Regions from separate parts of the Homo sapiens genome. Here regions 1 and 3 are each linked to region 2. The links are contacts of gene promoters, found by promoter capture Hi-C in blood cells and fetal thymus (Javierre and others, 2016). All regions are on one chromosome and are shown on one strand. The core of a region is centred on a gene start or on the middle of the fragment in contact, and the rest is flanking DNA. Distances in the headings are between cores, read along the strand shown.

What was found. The method cuts DNA at HindIII sites, captures the fragments that hold promoters and counts their contacts. A CHiCAGO score of 5 or more calls a contact.
Region 1: a contact is called between the fragment with the promoter of DRC8 here and the fragment with the promoter of KMO in region 2, in 1 of 17 cell types (monocytes). The highest score is 5.1, in monocytes.
Region 3: a contact is called between the fragment with the promoter of DESI2 here and the fragment with the promoter of KMO in region 2, in 1 of 17 cell types (neutrophils). The highest score is 5.9, in neutrophils.

The regions. Positions count from the first base shown.
Region 1 is chr1:244,968,295-244,970,994 of GRCh38, reverse strand. It overlaps DRC8 (dynein regulatory complex subunit 8), which reads right to left and starts at 1,313. Exons shown (of 8, transcript NM_032328.4): 1 at 952-1,313; 2 at 552-666. The coding sequence starts at 576. It overlaps LOC124900416, which reads left to right and starts at 425. Exons shown (of 4, transcript XM_054328428.1): 1 at 425-669; 2 at 671-740; 3 at 743-2,700. The coding sequence starts at 458. The coding sequence ends at 1,009. It overlaps EFCAB2-AS1 (EFCAB2 antisense RNA 1), which reads left to right and starts at 126. Exons shown (of 2, transcript NR_111907.1): 1 at 126-183; 2 at 1,016-2,700. RefSeq lists enhancers at 1-20, 2,459-2,700 and silencers at 191-280, 291-650, 661-840, 1,111-1,250. The HindIII fragment of the contact is 4,895 bases long and covers 1-2,631 here.
Region 2 is chr1:241,530,964-241,533,663 of GRCh38, reverse strand. It overlaps KMO (kynurenine 3-monooxygenase), which reads right to left and starts at 1,286. Exons shown (of 15, transcript NM_003679.5): 1 at 1,166-1,286. The coding sequence starts at 1,219. RefSeq lists an enhancer at 1,554-1,703. The HindIII fragment of the contact is 7,761 bases long and covers 1-2,700 here.
Region 3 is chr1:244,651,800-244,654,499 of GRCh38, reverse strand. It overlaps DESI2 (desumoylating isopeptidase 2), which reads right to left and starts at 1,374. Exons shown (of 5, transcript NM_016076.5): 1 at 1,145-1,374. The coding sequence starts at 1,186. RefSeq lists a silencer at 861-1,630 and enhancers at 1,711-1,870, 2,130-2,700. The HindIII fragment of the contact is 4,542 bases long and covers 829-2,700 here.

The sequences.
Region 1 (2,700 bases), core at 64-2,563, 3.4 Mb before region 2:
AGAACTCCTCCTCACCCAGGCCACCCCCCGGGGCCCACAGCCTGGACAGCTACGGGCGTGGCGCCTGCGGCACCGAGACCCCAGGCGAGAGTGTGGAGGCGGCGGCGGCTTCCCCGCGACCGTGAACAACGACGCCATTATCAGCACCCCCTGCCGGCGCCTCCGGCGCAGCCCGCGCAGGATGCAAGGCCCGGCCTCCGAGGGAGGGGGAAGGAGGACGGGGCGGGAGGAGGGGAAGAGGGTGAAGAGGGCGGGAGGAGAAAGAAGAAGGCGGGAGGAGGGGAGAGAGAAGAGGGAGGGAAGAGGGGAGAGAGGCGGGGCGGGGCGGGGGAGAGAGGCGGGGCGGGGCGGGGCGGAGCGGCGGGCCGGGCGGGCTACGGGGACGGGGGCAGGGCGACTGCTGCTGCCGGGTGGCCCCCTCCTCAGGCCGCCCTTTCCCTGCGGGTGGGAACTCCAGATGGACGAGGGCCCACCCCACCCGGCGCTTCCCCGTGCAGCCCGGGGTCGCGGCGGGCGGCGAGGGCAGCGGCTCCCCGGCTCCCCTACCTTACCTTCCCTGTCCTTCTCGTCCGCCATCTTGCTGCGGAGCCGGTCGCCTGGGAGATGCCTAACGATAACCTCGGCCGCGGTGTCCCGGCCTGCTCAGCGCCCCGCGGCGAGCCTGGCCTGGAGGAGGGGCCGCTCTGAATCCCGGGGGAGGAAGACCCTTGGGCGGGGCGGGGCGGGGAGGAGGCTCCGAGCGCGCGCCCTGTCCCCGTTTCGCGCCACGACCCTCGCGCTGGGGGAAGACCAGAGGCCCCGTCTGCCACCCGGCCCCCGGCCTTGTCCCTCCAGACCCGAGGCCGGAGCCGGACTTGTCCCGGGCCTAGCATGTTGCTTCATCACACGGTCCCCAACCCCTCCTTTCCCTTATTTCTCATCCATTTGGGGACAGCACGCGCGCGCACACACCCCTCGCCCCCTCCTGTCCTGTTTGTGCGACGTGGCGTTGCTCGATTTTTGTTGTTAACTGCAGATTTTGAAAAGCGCCGGAGAGCTAGGTGAAGAGCTGGGCTCCCAAGGGGGTGATAGAACCAGCCCGCGGCCCGGCCTCCTCCTCCCGCTTCCCATTCGCAGCCCGCCTCCCGCCGGGAAGCGGCCCGGCTGCTGCAGAACGGCCGCGCCTGCCCTCCCGGTTTCTCCCGTCCAGTCTTCACCGTCCTTTCCCAGAGAAAGCGACAGCACAGCCTATGACAACCGAAGCTAAAACGGAAAAACTGGGCCGGGCGCAAGAGGAAACCAGAGCCATTCGACTATTGCTAGAGGAGAGGAATAGCTGCAGGAAAACATGCGCAAAATAGCACAAACATTGCGTCGTCAAGGCTGCAATGTCTAATACAAAATAGAAGGTTCTCATAGCAACAAAAACGTGCCCATGTTGTGCTCAGTATTACATGCGTTAAAATGTTCTTAGTTGTGAAATTTGACATGACCGCTAGTTAAAGTTACAATGGAAGTTTTAAATCCCGCTTTCCGAAAACTTTGCAGCTATAGCATGAAGTTAAATTTTTGTCTTATTTTCTGGATAAGTTTACTATACTGGAACATAGTAAAGCTCTTTTTATAAAGAGCTTTGAATAAAATACCTAATGATGTGGTTGAAACGAACACCTATTTTCAAAACTAATCTTAAGTGGTATTTCAGTGCATATGTTATGTAAAAGCAATTTATAAACTAAATTTTAAGAGCCTTCAAAATACAAGGTACTCGTATTTAATGACTTAACAGTTTTAATGCTTTTATTGTTTCTATAATCTCTCAGGAAATCCTAAAACTGACTATATTTTTCTTTATTAAAATAACTTTTTCTGTAGAAGATACCCATTTGGCGCTGTGATCAGCATTCTACTTGAAATTGAATATAAACAACTGAATCATTACAAAATGGCTCATGTTAGAAGATACTTAAAACGAATACAATCTTGTACAGTAAATGTTTAACACCCCAAAATAACGAAAAGTAATTATTAGCATTCATTTATATCTAAATCTCAGTCAATATGATCTAAATATTTGTGTTTAAAGACTCCCCCTTTCCATATAGATAATGAAGGGCTTTGAAATAAGTGTAGGAAACCCTAAGTTTGGTCTCAGGCTTCCTATTCATTCACTATGCTTTTTCGTGTGCTGTTTACAGTTTCCTTTTTCTGGAATGCCTTTCCCTGCTTTTTTCCCCCGCCAACATTTCAGCTTCCCACAGACACACATTTGTGCCCTCCTGGTTGTCCTGCAGGATGACCTTTGTTTTTGTTTTTGTCTTTTGTTTTTCGAGACAGGGTCTCGCTCTGTCGTCCAGGATGGAGTGCAGTGGTGTGATCTCTGCTCACTGCAACTTCCGCCTCCCGGTCTCAAGTGACCCTCCCACCGCAACCTCCCAAGTAGCTGGGAGGAGCGGCGCGCGCCACCATGTCTGGCTAGTTTTTGTATTTTTTGTAGAGACAGAGTTTCCCCATGTTGCCCAGGCTGCTCTCAAACTCCTGAGCTCAAGCGATCTGCCGCCTGCCTGGCCCTCCCAAAGTTCTGGGATTACAGGTGTGAGCCACTGTGCCTGGCCAGGATGACCTTTTTGAAGTCACCTAGTCATTGAAGCTTTCCCTCTCAGCCTTTTCCTCTGTGGCCCCATGCTTATAGAGCCTCCCACATTGATTTGCAGTGCCTTC
Region 2 (2,700 bases), core at 37-2,536:
AATATTGGTACATAGTAATCAGATTTTGTTGAACACATGAATTCTCATTTTGTGCAACATTTTGATAGGACAGATTGGACACAAGCCTAGTATGAAGCAGTGACGACACATGTCCCAACCAGTGACCAACACATCATGTGATAGCATTTCTAAATGAAAATTTAGAATCAGAAATATTAAAAGAACTGTTCTAGCACTTTGGGGAAAAGACACTAAGGAAGGCAGAACAAAAGACAGCATATACTGTATAAATACATGTGTGGCATAAAATATACCATCTATATTCAGCCTAGAACAGTGTTACGCCCTCAATAAATTTTTTGTTGAGTGGATATATGAATAATTAATGAAAAGTCTCCAAATGATTTGACCAAAGGTGATAGGGAAATGATTTAACCTTGACTAACTGGGATGTTTGTATTCTGAAACAGAAATTCTGCTGAGATGGGAAAAAGCAAAGTTGAATCGGAGCAGACCCATGTTAAACAGAACTACCTTTGGCACCATAACTATGAAAGCAGAGAGTGACCTCTCCTTCCGTCTTGTTAGGTATGGGGGAAGCCCCAGCACCTTTACGTCACGTGCTCAGTGAGAGGTGAACACCTCACTCCACTGTCTTAGGTGCTCCACTGGAAGAGTCAAGTAAGTCAGGCGACCACATAAATCTTATTCCCAATTACTCATATAACTAGTGAACATTCAACATGATACTTTGACGTTAGCTTCATGTTTCTTGACCCTTTTATTCTCATTAGACAGCATTAACTGAGTTATTAAACAAAGCGGAACAAATGTTTTTATTAAAATGAATATTGAGACTAATTCCTGTTCCTAAAAACATAGCCAATTTGGGGATAAAATCAAATTCAATTTGCATTATTTTTGCTTTTTAACAAATCCTAAACCAAAATGATGAGGGAAAACAGAAACCTTTGTATTTAATGGCTATAAAATACCTTTCCTGAAAAAGAACAGATTAAAACTCATACTATATTAAATCTATGAAAATAAAAATATTAAAAAAATAAACAAAATAGCTGTATTTAAATATCAGAGTTTTCACAAGAAAATTAACAATTTGCAGAAGTGACGAATAATAATCATTACGAGTAATAATAGTTAATATAATACCACCAACAATAGTAATCCATCTGAAAATTCTTACCAAGCCACCACCAATGACAGCTACTTTTTTCCTTTGAATGACAGATGAGTCCATAACTGCTGAAGTATTTTTCACAATTATTGTTGCTTCTGTCACTGAGTGACACTGATTTCTGTGTCTCCTACACACTGATTTCTCTGAGTTTTTATACTGCCCCAAGCCTAGTGCATTCATGAGCCAGCGGCAATGTTTAGTCAGGGCTAATTTCCCTTGACAGTATTAACCCATTAGTTGGCCAAAGTACAATCAGCTCAGCTCTAAGAAAAAATAAATCCATTACAATAACCAAATTTTTTAAAAAATCCATCCAATTGGAGACACTCTATTTTTTCTATCTTCTGTGTAAGACACAGAAATTTTTAAGCAGTCTTGTGGCTTTTCTTCTTCTTTTTCTACAGCATATATTCTTAGTTTCGTTTTCATTCATGATTAACCATGAATGGAGCCCTTCTCATCTGAAGTCCAAAAACATCTTATACCTCCCTTAGAGAGTAAGATGACATGGTTTCATAATTCATCTGTGGATCATTTTTGTGGTTAAGACCAATCAAAAATTTCATCTAAAGGGTCCTCATGGATTGTTTTTAACAGGCTCTACCAGGGAAAATTCTCTGCAAGGTCTTAATATTCTCCCGATCAACATTTTGAATTGTGTAACTGACCATACTTCCCCTTTTTTTTTTCAGCCCAGATGCTAGAAAATTTAGAATCTAATTTTAGAATCGAAAATTTAGAGTCTAATTACCACTAGGGGAGATGACTGACACAACGCTTCTGTAAACTCATTCCCGACTTCATATTATCTATTCACTTTTTTGTCTTTTTCACTCCGTTTTAAATGTTATACTTTTGTGCATGATTTGCGAATGGCAATTGTTTTCTGGAACATGATGTGGTGTAATGTAAAATAAGAACATAAATGAAGTTGTTTCTTCACTTCCTGTTAAGCACATAAAGAATTCAGAACGTTTTTTTCCCTGGTTAGGAACTAGAGTTAAATGGCATTCAATAGTGACCCCTTGTGGATAAGCATGATTAGGTATTTTATTTATTTTGAATAGGTAATACATTAACATGGCATGAAATTAAAGACACAAAAGAGTACACGGTGAATAGTAATCCTGCTAACCTTGACCCTTGGCCACCTATTCCTCCTGCCCAAAGACAACAACTGTTTTGGTGTGTGGGTTACCGTATTCTTCTACACGTTGATTATGTCTTTCTTGTTCTTCCTCTCTCTCCTTTTCTCTCTCTCTTTCTCTCACTCTCTCATTCCCTTCCTTCCTTTCTTTTTAAACATACATTTAAAAACTTTTTCCACATCATATTTCTCACTTTACAACATATAGCTTGAGAATTCTTCAATATCAATATGTAGAGAATATGTATCAATTCCTCAGTATCAATATGTATCATTGTTAAAAAATCTTTTAAAAATTATGAACTATAACACAAATGAACAGTATAATAAGTTACTGTAAAGCAAGTATCCATGTAACTACCATTTAGGTGCAGAGAGAGAATATTGCCAGAAT
Region 3 (2,700 bases), core at 125-2,624, 3.1 Mb before region 2:
CAATTCCCAGATATGGCATGAGAAATCCCACTCTACCCAAGATATAATAACACTGTAAATTTAGAAACTTATAAATAATACAAGGGAATACAAAGTTTAGAACTGTATAAGACTCTTGGCCTGTAGTATTTCTGCTCTCCTGCATCTTTAAGCCAACAAAAATAACGACGGGCAATTTTTCATTTGTCAGTCAACTTACAAGGAATTTTAAGCACTGCAGTCAGAGGTACTAATCCAGTCTACAGAACAAAAACCCATTCTACAGAACAAAGCAAGCAAACACACCCAAACATGCATCTAACTGCAACGACAATTCTCTACCGGGTGCTTTTTTCTGGGGGCATTTCACTGCAAAAATCAGGCAAACCAGTTCTTGGACTCGATTCTGCGTGCTTGCCATACTCCAAAGTTAGATGATACAATAAACAACTTCTTCCCTTCCCTCTCCCGTGGTCACGTCACCTGTTGCATCACCTGGAAAGTGGTCTTCAGAGTGTAGGAAAGGAGCACCACCAGGATCTCTAAATAATTCAGCTGGGCTATTTTCTTGAGAAATGTTAGCCTCATTCATATTTTAACGAGGTTGCCTTTAACACACAAGGAAAGGGTGTGTTGGCTCCTGTTCACCTTTGAAGAGATTCTAGCACAGGCACCCGAAAGCTGTGACCTTCTGGACTTAGAGGGGCTTGGGAGTTTCTGAAGACGTAGCCATGGAGAGAGACGGACAGTTCGGCAGAAGCAGAGGAGCTGGGAGCGCAGGCGGTCGGGACGGGGGTCCCGGGGCAGCCCCGGGGGCCGGCAAGTGGGGTTGGAAACGCAACGGAAGCTTTGCCGAAAGGACACTGCACGTCGGCCAAGGGGTCGGGCCCAGAGCCGGGGTCGGGTCCAAGCTGAGCGGATGGGAGAGGTTCAAGCCCACCCGAGCTTTGGCCAAAACCCTCGGGCTGACTGGGTTCACCGGAGCGTCGACGAGTGCGAGGATTAAAAAATAACAATACTCCCTCCTTCACCCCCGGCTTCCCCCGAGAACTAGGCTGGAGGCGGAGACGCCAGGCAGGAAGCGCCTGGGGCCGGGGTCCGAGCCCCACGGGCGAGAGGAAGCCGGCCTGGGCCAGGGCTCGGGGCCGCCAGGGGCCGCACTCACCATGTCGTACACGTTGAGCACCACTAACTGGTTAGCCCCCATCCTCCTCCCCGCGGCCGCCGCCTCGTCCTCAAGCCGCTCCGTCTCCGCGGGGCCGGAGGCCGCTCTCACCCCCGCGGGCGCTTCAGGGGGCCTGAGCCGGGCACTAAGCGTACAGCCCGGCCCGCGGCAGCCGGGGCGGAAGCATCGGGCAGCCGAGCCGCTCCCGGGCGCCGCCGACAGGAGCGTCTGTGCGGACGGGGCCGGACCGTTGGCGGCCCGCTCCGGATGAGGCACCTCCCCTAGGCGGCAGACACGTGGGGAAAGGCGGGGCTTGAGCAAGGGGCGGGCGCCAGGCGCCCCGGGGGCGGGGCCGGCCCGGCGCCAGGACTGAGCCCGCCTGCGCTCTGGTTCTCGGCCGGCGCACCTCGGGACCTAAAATGGCGGCAACTCCGGCGCCTCCGCGTCCTGGAGGAACGGGGACCCAGGAAGACTACAGTTCCCAGCATGCAGTGAGGATTCCCCCTTGCTACTATAAGTGCAGAGGCGGAGTCTCAACAGCCCTTCGACTACAACTCCCTGCATGCCGCGGGGGCCCCGGTCCTACCAGACCAGGCCTCCCCGGGAGACTACAACTCCCAGCATGCAGTGCTTTAGAGCTGCGGCAGATCCCTTGCCGCCCGCGGGCGGTGAAATCTCCTACCTTCATTCACCCTCTCATCTCAGGTGCTGCTGCTGTTAGTAGTTCATGTTGCGTTGAGCTCGATGAAGCCAGCGAAATGTGGCAAAAGACCAGAGTGATGACCCTAAGTTTTCCAAATGCTTCCTCACCTTTTATTTGGCAAGGGGAGTGGTGGGGAAATAGAGGAAGACGAGTTACTGGTGTGGGATGAGGTGTAACGTGCATCCAATTAATCCTCAATGTGGAATTTACATTTTGTGAAACTATCCTGCTGAGATGGGAAGGGTACAGTAACCGTAGCTTAGCACAATCCTGGGACGTAGTATGCAGCTCTGCATTAATTCAACAAATGTTTGTTATGTGCTTCCTATGTGCCAGGCAGTGTTGTAGGCCCTCGGGAATGCCGTGATAAACAGGAACAGGGACATACAAAATATCACTGGTATGTGCTTTGCAGAAAATTTAAGTAAGGTGAAGTCATTCTTAAATTGGCTGCACGGGGAAGATCGCTGTAATGAGTTTTAAGCTGAAATGTGAATGACAAAGCCAGCCCCGCAGATATGAGGGGGAGGAGTATTTCAGTCAAAGGGAACAAATGCAAAGATCTGAAGCATGAAGGAGTTTTCTGTATTCAAGGAAACAAAAGATCACTCTTGCTGGGACACAGTAGGCAAGGAGTCGACGGTACTAGATGAGCTGGGCAGGTAGGCAGAGGCCAGATCCCGGAAGGATTTTAAAATTCATAACAGGGGTTGTATTTTAAACGAAGCCATAAGTTTGGACCAGGGAGTGAAATGAGTGTGCGTGTGTTTAAAAATGATTACTTGGGTTGCTGTGTGGAAAATGGATTTCAGAGAGGCAAAGGAGGTGGAAATAGGGAGATGAGTGTGGCAGA